Linked DNA regions of Homo sapiens: all the other regions are linked to region 3. The links are contacts of gene promoters, found by promoter capture Hi-C in blood cells and fetal thymus (Javierre and others, 2016). All regions are on one chromosome and are shown on one strand. Each heading gives the region's core, a stretch centred on a gene start or on the middle of the fragment in contact. The rest is flanking DNA. Distances are from core to core; before and after follow the strand shown.

Region 1 (3,402 bases), core at 70-2,569, 260 kb before region 3:
GCAAGGCCTCTGCATCCTCTGATGTCATCTCTTCCCCATCCCCAGATGACTTCCGGATCTTCTGTGGGGATCTGGGCAATGAGGTGAACGATGACATCTTGGCACGCGCCTTCAGCCGCTTCCCATCCTTCCTTAAGGCCAAGGTGATCCGTGACAAGCGCACAGGCAAGACCAAGGGCTACGGCTTCGTCAGCTTCAAGGACCCCAGCGACTACGTGCGCGCCATGCGTGAGATGAATGGTGGGTGCGGCCTCCCCTGGGAACTGCAGGCGCGGCAGGCGCTGGCCTAAGCCTGACCCGAGCCTGCCTTGAACCCTCTGTCTCCACAGGGAAGTATGTGGGCTCGCGCCCCATCAAGCTTCGCAAGAGCATGTGGAAGGACCGGAATCTGGACGTGGTCCGCAAGAAGCAGAAGGAAAAGAAGAAGCTGGGCCTGAGATAGGGTCTGTGGCCAGGCACCCGCTCCCACCTGGCCGGGCGCTGGCTCCTCCCTCAGTTCTCTTTGGAAAACCCCCAGCTGTCCACCCATCCCCTGCCCCAAAACCAGTTTCAATAAATTTACGTTCATTTCCACCCCTGGCTGGGCATGGAAGCACGCTGTGGGGAGCAGGGCTTGGCTTCCCCACAGCTGGAAATGGCGGGGAGCCTTGAGAGTTTACCCAGGCAAACACCCAGGCGGGGGCTTCTGAGCCCTTCCTGCGCACCCATTCCCTCTTCAAACCTCTTCCACACATGCTGAGTGCTGCTTATTCCAGAGGAGAAAGGGGGGCCAATGGCAAGGGTGAAGCCAAGCTGAGGCCCATCCCCGTGTCCTGGCTACTTCCTGTGTTCTCAGCACCAAGGTAGGAGATCTAGGCCCTTCCCTTCTGGAGCTCACAGGCTTCTAGGCCCTCTTCCATCCAGCAGACTCTCACCAAGGGTCTGAACAGTGCTTGAGGACACAATGGTGACTAAAAGTCCTGGGCCCTGCACCGTTAGAGCTCAAGGTCCAGTGCAGAAAATAGGCCCGGTGCCCTGACGATAAGAGCCCAGAGTGGTCAGGGCAGGATGGGGGCGCTGACCTGTGGGTGAGGGGGCCCTTCCTGAAGGAACCGTCCACCCCCAAGTCTCCTCTGGGGCTTTCCAGCTTCTCCAGTCTGCCATGCCCAGCCAGCTCACCATGCTCTAAGTCTCGGTGGGCACCTCTATCTCTGTCTCTGTGGGTACCCCTCCATTTCTTGTCTCTAAGCTTCTATATCCCTGTTGGTCTCTGTTCTCTCCCTTGGAGCTGGGAAATGAAAAAGGAGGAGAGACCCACAGATAGAGAGAACAGAGACTTGGGGTCTGTTCCCCTCTCTTCCCAGCTCCAAGCTGGCCTCTGCCTGTCTGAAGAGGTGTCTGTGCAGGGCCTTGAATGCCAGGCTGAGGGCTTAAGCTTTACGCAGAAGGCAGCAGCAAGCCCCAAAAAGCTGAGAAAATTCAAGCAGCAGCAAGGTCCTGGGCAGCACAGATGTGCGCTGTAGAAAGGGCCCTGTGACCGGCTGGGTGCGGTGGCGCACGCCTGTAATCCCAGCACTTTGGGAGGCAGGCAGATCACTTGAGGTCACGAGTTCGAGACCAGCCTGGCCAACATAGTGAAACCCTGTGCCTACTGAAAAATACAAAAATTAGTTGGGCGTGGTGGCGGGCACATGTAGTCCCAGCTACTTGGGAGGGCTGAGGCAGGAGAATCGCTTGAACCTGGTAAAAGGAGGTTGCAGTGAGCTGAGATCGCGCCACTGCACTCCAGCCTTAGTGACAGAGTGAGATTCTGTCTCAAAAAAAAAAAAAAAAAAACGCCCTGCGACCACCACTGTGGCTGGAAGTCTAGAAGGCTGGGGCAGGGACTGGGCCAGAGGAGGGAGATGGCAGGTTTGAGTATGGGGAGGAGTGGAGGGTCTCCCAGGGACACAGCCATCGGAACCCTCCATTAGGAGGGAGCAGGTTGGGCAGGACTTTGTGGGGCATAAGTCGGGGGATGGACAATACCAAGGCCTCTCAGGGACCGAGGTCCCCCAGGAGAGGTGTCGAATTTCTCCTGTTCCTGTCTTCCCCGCCTTACTGCCCCCTCTCTGACGTCACATTTTCCAGTCTGGTCAGAGGGTGAGAGCCTCCCTGGCAGGAAGTGCCCTTTAGCCCCCTGCCACCTGGGCCAGACCACCCAGCCCCAGGATCCTCAAAGCCCCTTCCCCCCATCACTAGTCTTTTCTACCCCTGACCCCCCTTGTACTGACAGCAAGCATAGGGTCACGGGAGGAGATGGGAAGAGAGGATGGCTCCAGAAAGGACGCTTCCAAATGCATGTGATTCTCACTTCCAAGTGGGAGCAGAACAGCAGGTACACGTGGACATGCAGAGTGGGGTAACAGGCACTGCAGACTCCAAAAGGTGGGAGCGTGGGGGAAGCTGAACAGTTACCAGTTGGGTACGTTGCTCACCATTCGGGTGCACTAAAGGCCCAGGCCAGTATACTGGATATACTGACATATATCCAGTAAGGAATCTGCACTTGTACCCCCTAAATGTTTATCTTTTTTTTTAATGCACACAAGTCTTCCTGAGAACAAGAAGAGACACACACACATAGAATGTGGCAAGCAGAGGTAGAGATGGCGCTGTGAGCAGGAGGCTCAGAGGCAGAGATGAGAACCATCAGAGACTGTGCAGTGGGAAGGGGGACGGGGAGAAAACCAAGAGACAGATGGAGACGGACAAGGAGATGAGATAGGAACACTCAAAGACAGATGGGGAGGGACAGAGATGTCAGAAGAGACCAGGTGACAAAGCCTCACTGGAGTCAGGCCCGTGGCAACAGAGACCCAGCTTTAGATATGCCAACCTGAAGAAAGAGGGCAGAGAGACATGGAGAGACAGACAAGAGGCCAGCTTCAAGGATGGGAAGCCAGGACTCCCTTCAGGCCTCCGCGCTGGACGGATAGAGGGACCAGTGATGCTCCAGGGCTCTGTGGCTTACCCCACACTGATTCCAATCCCAGTCCCACTCCCACTCCATGGGACCCCCGGTTTACTTTACTGTAAAATGGAAGGAGGAGCAATGCCACCCGCTCTCCAGAACGGCAAGTAGTTAATGATCAAGAGGCTGGGCTGGGGACTGGAAGATGCCGATATGCAAAAGTTATTTTTAATGGTAAATATTACATACTTATTAAAATACAGCAGGATGGCTGGGCACGGTGGTGGCTCATGCTTCTAATTACAGCACTAAGGCTAAGGCAGGTGGATAGCTTGAGGCCAGGAGTTTGAGACCAGCCTGGCCAACATGGCAAAACCCCATCTCTACTAAAAATGCAAAAATTAGCCTAGGCATGGTGGCTCACGCCTGTAATCCCAGCACTTTGGGAGACCGAGGCAAGTGGATCACTT
Region 2 (3,167 bases), core at 409-2,908, 350 kb before region 3:
CAACCAGCAAAACCAGCTTTTCTGAAACTGCTCCCTAGAATAATTTGTCCAGCCAGATTCTTAACATCGTTCAAGCCATGGGGTCAGCATGGGGCTGGGGGGAGAGTTGTGACTGTGAGCTCCTCAGTTCTATGGCCCTCAGATCAGATCCCAGCCTGAGCCTTCTCAGGGTGGAGTGGAGAGACAGCTGCAGCCAAGAAGCAGAGCAGTGGGGCCCCCAGCTTGGACATTGTCCTGGATGCCCCCCTCCACCCTCAGCCTTCCTTGGTCCACTGAAGCCGGCTCCCCGCCTTTCTCTGAGGGGGATGTGTCAGAAGTTTTGAATGTCATGTTTAAGCTCCACTTTGATGTACACCCTCCCCACTCAGGAAGATGCTCCCCATCCTTGGTGTTCCCAGTGGGGTACCCCAGGGAGTAGGATAGCACCATTGCCCCTCCTCCTCCACCAGGCCGTTGAAGTTCCACCTGATTTTTTTTAAGCTTAGGCCTAGGAAAGCTCACTATGACCATCTCGATGTTTCCAGAGGGAGCATTTGCCTTCAGACGGCAGCTGCCATCTAGGCCACTCTTCCTCATTGTTTGGAGTAAAGACAGGGTCCATGGGTCTCTTGGGAGCTGGAAGTGATTGATCACCTTGACTTTGATGTAGAAAGGAAGTAGATGGGGCAGTCTATCTGGGTGGACTTGTGACAAGGTCACTTTCTCCCACACTTCCATGCCCCACATAGCTCTTCACACATATTGAGACAAGTGTAGGATGCAAAATTACCAACTGGAATAATCCCAGCTTACATGGGGTTCAGGGAGAGAGACTGGAGTGGCTGGGCCTGAGTTGGCAGAGGACGGTGAAGCCTGGGCGGTTGGACTGTGGGGAGCCAGGCTTCAGGTGATCGGGGTTATGATGGGAAAACCCCGGGTTATGGGGACCCAGAGGAGCCGCCTGGCCTGCCGTGGAAGCAGTGCGGGCTCCCCTGAGCAGAGGACATGTGAGCTGAGACCTAAAGAATGAGTGATTGGGGCAAGGCAGAGGTAATGGTCTTGAGGTCAGAGAGGGGGCCTGTTTTTCCCAAGGGAACATAACTGGTTGGAATGAGTTCAAGGGGACTTGTAAGACTACAGAAGCTGGCAGGGGTCAGATCACAGGAGGCTTTGGGAACCAAGGAGAGCTCTAGGCAGAGGAAGGACAGGGTCAGATTTGGCTTTAGGAAGCTCTGCATGGCTGTTGTCTGAAATGGGAAAGCTGAGGCCACGAGGCCAGGGCTGGACCAGGGCAGGGCTTTGTGGGGTTAGGAGAGTGACTAGAAGCCAAGCCCAGGTGTTGGTGATCAGTGGCTGTGTGTATTTATTTACCGGCAGGGGGCGCTAACAGGTAAGGGAGGAGCAAAGAGTTCCAGGATAACTGGAGTTTGGGGCTTGTAAGCCCGAGGGCTCACCACGTTTCCAAGGGAGAAGGGACCACACTGATGGGACAGTGGGACTATCAGATTGGGTCAGTGCATGGGTACAGGCATGGGGGGTGATGAAGAGGCCAGTGTAGGTCACCAACACTGGGGGAAGCTGGGGACAGAGGTGGGTCTCACTGCAGAAACAACTGAAGCCATGGGGGACTGGGGGGCTGTGGTCACAAGGAAGGAGAAGCCCAGGCCCTAGCCAGAGAAAGCCACATAAGAAAGAGGAAGAGAGGTGAACAGAGGGGCTGGGAAAGGAGCGGCAGAGATGGGAGGTAGGGGGATGGGGTTAACCTTTCAGGTGAGGGGTGTGAGGAGGGGACCTCCAGGAGTTGTTCAGGAACTGGCCATTGCCGGGACAGAGGAGTAAGCAGGTAGGCTCAGAAAGGAGACACCGCTGGGGGGTGGGGGATGCTTGATGTGGAAATGACTTGGGCCCCCTTGTGTCTGGGAGCCTCCAGGAGGGAGAAGGGTGCTGAGAACAGAGAAAGCCCAGAGGTGGTAGGGGGTGCCTATCGCCACGGCCCAGCTTGCGTTTAGATGCCATGACCCTGGGCAAAGGAATAGGAATCATTTCCCCAAGGCAGGTTTATTGAGGACCTACTATGTGCCAGGCTGTGTACTAGGCACTGGAGGTGCAGCCCTGGATAAACAGCCCCCATGTACAGGACTGTGGGAGATCACAAGCACTAATGAGAGACGCTGAGGACAGTGCCTGGCACCAGATACAGCACAGTCAGCATGAGCTGGTTTTATTACCATCGCCCAGGACACAAGCGTGTCTTTAACGAAGGGCCCTCAGGCAGCCGTCCAGCCTGGACTGGAGTCCTAAGAACAGAAACACCCTCCAGAAGCGGTCAGCTGTACTCCCTGTCAGAGCCCCACCGCCACCACAGGTGGCGGCTTTCCCGAGGCCAGCCCAGAGGACTGCCCAGGCGCTGCTGCTCCAGGAGGTGCGAACCTTGGGAATGGGGGAGGGGAGTGGGCAGGTCCCTCCAAGTTTGGGGTGCCGTGGGCTACAGAAGCAGATACTGGTGGGGCTGGGACTCTTGGTTGCTCAGATATCTTGGTGGCTGTCCAGAGGGTCCCACGAGCCCTGCCCCCACCTGCTGTGGCAGTTGCAGGGATGCTTGAAGGCAGTCGTCCCTCTAATAGTAGAGTTCCTGGTCCCACCAGCCTGGGAGAGAGAGGGAGAAAGGAGACTCAGTGCTGGGGGTGCCACTTAGGCAGGGCCAGGGGCTCAGAGGTCAGTGCTGGTTGCTATGGAGGGTCAAGGGCTTAGAGGCCAAGTGTTGAGGATCAAAGGTGGGTGCAGCTGCTCAAACGTTTCAGTCCCCTGCCCCCAGGCTCCCAGTCTCCACACTCACTCCCTGGGCAACAGCGAACTCCAAGCTTCCGGATCTCATCATAGACGAAGATGAGGATGCCGTAGGGCAGGGGGACCAGCCACCACTGGAACCTGAAGGCACATGGCAAGGTGAAGGCCATCCCAGGCCTGTGCCCTACAGCCCCCTCCCTGTCCTTGCCCCTCACAGCCTCTCACCGAATGGGCATGAAGTTGAAGATGTTGGGCATGCCGGGGCAGTAGCACAGGAAGCAGCCGATGCAGACCTGGAACACGATGGCGATCACCAGGATCTTATTCCTGGGGGTGGGCAGAATGGGACAGGCCATTAGGAATTGGGGACGTGATGGAAATCAGGATACTGTGGGTCAAAG
Region 3 (3,353 bases), core at 812-3,311:
AGCCTCATTCACAGATGGGGTCAGGGGCTGCTCTGGGGGAGGGAGAAATTGTCCCTGTAGAGACAAAAGCAAAAAGGAACCCAGGTGACTTTATCTGGCAGATTCCTCCGGGTCTGTCTCGGATCTATAAGACATTTCGGTCAGGACCACCCCTCTCATCAGCCCCGAGGGCCCGGCAAGCCGCTGAGTCCCTACGGGACAGCACGGGGCCTCCGGAGAGCTGTGGCTCCCTGGCCTCACCTGCACCCCGCCAGCGTCGGGCTGCTGCTGCTGGCGGCGCCTCTGCTCTTCCAGAAGCTTCTTCACGGTTTGCGTTGGGCAGTGGCTGCGCTCACCCCTGCTCACTGTGCGGGAGAGGAGAGGGGGAAGTCATCAAGGGTCCTTAAGTCACCTAAATGCCGCGGGGGTGGCGCGCGGGGAGTGGGTTTGGGCACCCTCCTCGCCCTCCCGCGCGGAAAAACTGGCACATAGATGCCGCCTGACTCCTCCAAAGCCATTAGAAGATTTGGGGTGGGGCATCCGCCTCCGCCGTTTCCTTCCTTTTGCTCCGCACTTTCCCTCTGACCCAACTTTCCACCACCGTCGCGGAAAGTGAGGAAGGGGGAGGAGGGCACCCCTCTGCAGCAACCACCCCACTTCCGTAAAAAAATTCCACCCCCAGATATCCAAGTTTTGAAGTCAGCGGGTTGGTGGGGGGCCGGCGCCAGGCGTCACTCCCTAGACTCACATCCAGGTTCCCAACATTTTTTTCCCTAGAACCTGACCCGGAAATCAGGAGTCCCCAGCGCCCCTCCTCGAGAAGTCAAAGGCCTCACCCCGGGCCGGGAGCGGTGGCTCACGCCTGTAATCCCAACACTTTGAGAGGCCAAGGGGGGCGGATCACCTGAGGTCAGGTGGCCAACATGGTGAAACCCCGTCTCTACTAAAAATATAAAAATTAGCCGGGCGTGGTGGCAGGCGGCTGTATATCCCAGGTGAGGCAGGGGAAACACTTGAACCCGGGAGGCGGAGGTTGAGGTTGCAGTAAGCGGAGATCGCGCTACTGCACTCCAGCCTGGGCGACAGAGAGAGACTCCATTAAAAAAAAAAAAAAAAAAAAAAAAAGGCCCATCCATACAGTCTCTTTTTCAGGCCCCAGGAATCTGGACCCTCAGTTCCTTCCTCTCTAGGACCTGGGAGCCCCAGTTCCCAAACTCCTTCCCACGACTCAGAAAGACAGAACCCTCACCCTTCCGAGCCTGGGTTCCGGCGGAGGAAGGGTTAAGTGGGGATTGCGCGGGGCGGGGGCGGGAGGAGGTGGCTCGGAAACAGCCCCGACGCGGCGCGCTGACGCCACGGCGCTCACGCAAGGGAATCTTCCATCCTCCCCTTCCCCCCAAGTCCTGTGCCCCAGGTGTCCTGCTCCGAGGCGGGGCGCGCGGCCGATCGTGGCGCTCGTGGAATCCCCGCGCAAGGGGAATTCCTGCTCAGCCCCGCACGGGTGGCCATCCGGAAATCCCAGGGCGGGGCAGAGGCAGGGTCACCGCCAGCGTAGACCCTGAGGCCAGGCTCCGGACCCTTCCCCACCGAGACCCACGCCGATTTTAAGCAACCACGCCCCCCCCCCCCCCCCCCGCACTCAGCCTAGTCCCTGCTTCTAGGGGTAGGAGTCTCGGTTGCCAGCAACCCCTAGCACCTCCAAGGACCCAGAGATCCAGCCTCCCAAGCCTCCCAGCCCTTGCACCCTCGGGGCCCTGCGATCCTGGATCCCCAGGCCCCTGCACCCCCAGGACCCAGAAGTCTGGGATCCCAGCCGCCCCTCTGTCACGATCCACGATCCCCTCCTCCTCCAAACACCTAGGGCCCTCACTCTCGGGATAAAGGACTGACGCTTCAGCTCCGTCCCTCAGGGCCTCGGGAGTCTTTCGATCCTCAGTCCCTCACTCTCTTAGGGGGCCGAACGCGTCCTGCCCGCGCCCATTACCTCGGGGATTCCGTGGCGTGGATTGCGGGCCCCCAGGGCCGCGGCCTCGGCGCTGCGCCAGCCTCGCTGTTTCCCCCGCGGAGCCGCCGCCGGGTCCCCGATCTTGGGTCCGGTACCCGCGAGTTTTTAAACTAGGGGTTATGGCACCGCCCAGTCCTGGGCAGGGCCCGCCCACAGGCCTGGGAGTCCCCGGGTCGCGCTCCGGCGAACGCAGTCCCTGAATGGGCGCGGCGGACTTGGGAGGCGGACTACTCAGTCCCCCCGGGAAGGAGGGAGCTGGGGTCCAGATCTTTGCTCTGAAGGAGCCTAGGGCACCGGGCTCCAAGAGGAGGGAGAAACCGGGGGGCCTGGATTTCTTTTCTTTTCTTTTTCTTTTTTTTCTTTTCTTTTTTTTTTTTTTTTTTTTTTGTTGTTGTTTTTGAGAAGGAGTCTCTGTCGCCCAGGCTGGAGTGCAATGGTGCGATCTCTGCAAACTCCGCCTCCTGAATTAAAGCGATTCTCCTGCCTCAGCCTCCCGAGTAGCTGACACTACAGGTGCTGGACACCATGCCTGGCTAATTTTTGTATTTTTAGGAGAGATGGGGTTTCACCGTGTTGGCCAGGCTGGTCTCGAACTCCTGGCCTCAGGTGACCCGCCTGCCTTGGCCTCCCAAAGTGCTGGGATTACAGGCTTGAGCCATGGTGCCTGGCTGGGGCCTGGATTTCTGGGTCTGTGTCTAAGGGGGTGCTGGAGGCTTTGTCTCCTGGGTCCTGCCCATGGGGGTAGGGGTAGGAGTGGGGATGGAGATGGGGTGGGGGCAGGGAGAATATTACTGGGTCCAGAGGGAGGCAGGACTGGGGGTCTAGACTCCCAGAGGAAGGGTCTGTGGGTAAGGGTATAGGGTGTGGCTCAATTTCTCCCTCTCCCCTACATCACCCTTTTTAGAGGTCTGGTTTCATTTACTCATTCATCATTTAAAATAATTTATTGCAGCAGAGGAGGCATTTTGCTGTGTATTGTGAACTAAGCAGGCAGGAATTCCCAGCCCTGGAGCTGGCATTCCAGTGGGAGGCCACTCTCAGTTTCACTTGGTGACCTTTCACAGCACTGACCATGTTGGCCCTATTTCTCCCCTGCTTGCTTGCTTTTCTATTTTATTTTATTATTACATTTTTATTGTTAGAGAGAGGGTCTCATTCTGTCGCCCAGGCTGGAGTGCAGTGGCAAAGTGGTGAGATCTCGGCTCACTGCAACCTCCACTTGCCTCAGTCTCCCAAGTAGCTGGGATTACAGGAGCCTGACACCATGCCCGGGTAATTTTTGTATTTTTGTAGAGACGGGGTTTCACCATATTGGCTTGAACTCCTGATCTCAGGTGATCCCCCCACCTTGGCCTCCCAAAGTGCTGGG

Evidence for each region. Contacts are between HindIII fragments. The CHiCAGO score rates a contact against its expected background, and 5 or more counts as called.
Region 1: a fragment that was not itself captured here is called in contact with the fragment with the promoter of NFKBID in region 3 in 2 of 17 cell types (activated CD4 T cells and fetal thymus); the score reaches 7.4 in activated CD4 T cells.
Region 2: a fragment that was not itself captured here is called in contact with the fragment with the promoter of NFKBID in region 3 in 2 of 17 cell types (fetal thymus and activated CD4 T cells); the score reaches 6.0 in fetal thymus.

Annotation. Positions count from the first base shown.
Region 1 is chr19:35,637,113-35,640,514 of GRCh38, forward strand. RBM42 (RNA binding motif protein 42) reads left to right here. Exons shown (of 10, transcript NM_024321.5): 9 at 46-240; 10 at 330-573. The coding sequence ends at 442. Among named protein-coding and RNA genes, the nearest start is that of ETV2, 2.9 kb to the right of the region's middle. The HindIII fragment of the contact is 186 bases long and covers 1,227-1,412 here.
Region 2 is chr19:35,548,019-35,551,185 of GRCh38, forward strand. ATP4A (ATPase H+/K+ transporting subunit alpha) reads right to left here. Exons shown (of 22, transcript NM_000704.3): 20 at 2,992-3,093; 21 at 2,816-2,907; 22 at 2,013-2,625. The coding sequence ends at 2,597. Among named protein-coding and RNA genes, the nearest start is that of TMEM147-AS1, 3.6 kb to the left of the region's middle. The HindIII fragment of the contact is 2,360 bases long and covers 479-2,838 here.
Region 3 is chr19:35,898,479-35,901,831 of GRCh38, forward strand. NFKBID (NFKB inhibitor delta) reads right to left here and starts at 2,062. Exons shown (of 12, transcript NM_139239.5): 1 at 1,964-2,062; 2 at 241-344; 3 at 1-54. The coding sequence starts at 2,024. RefSeq lists enhancers at 1-349, 350-921, 934-1,490, 1,336-1,585, 1,491-2,046 and a silencer at 1,946-2,095. The HindIII fragment of the contact is 4,662 bases long and covers 296-3,353 here.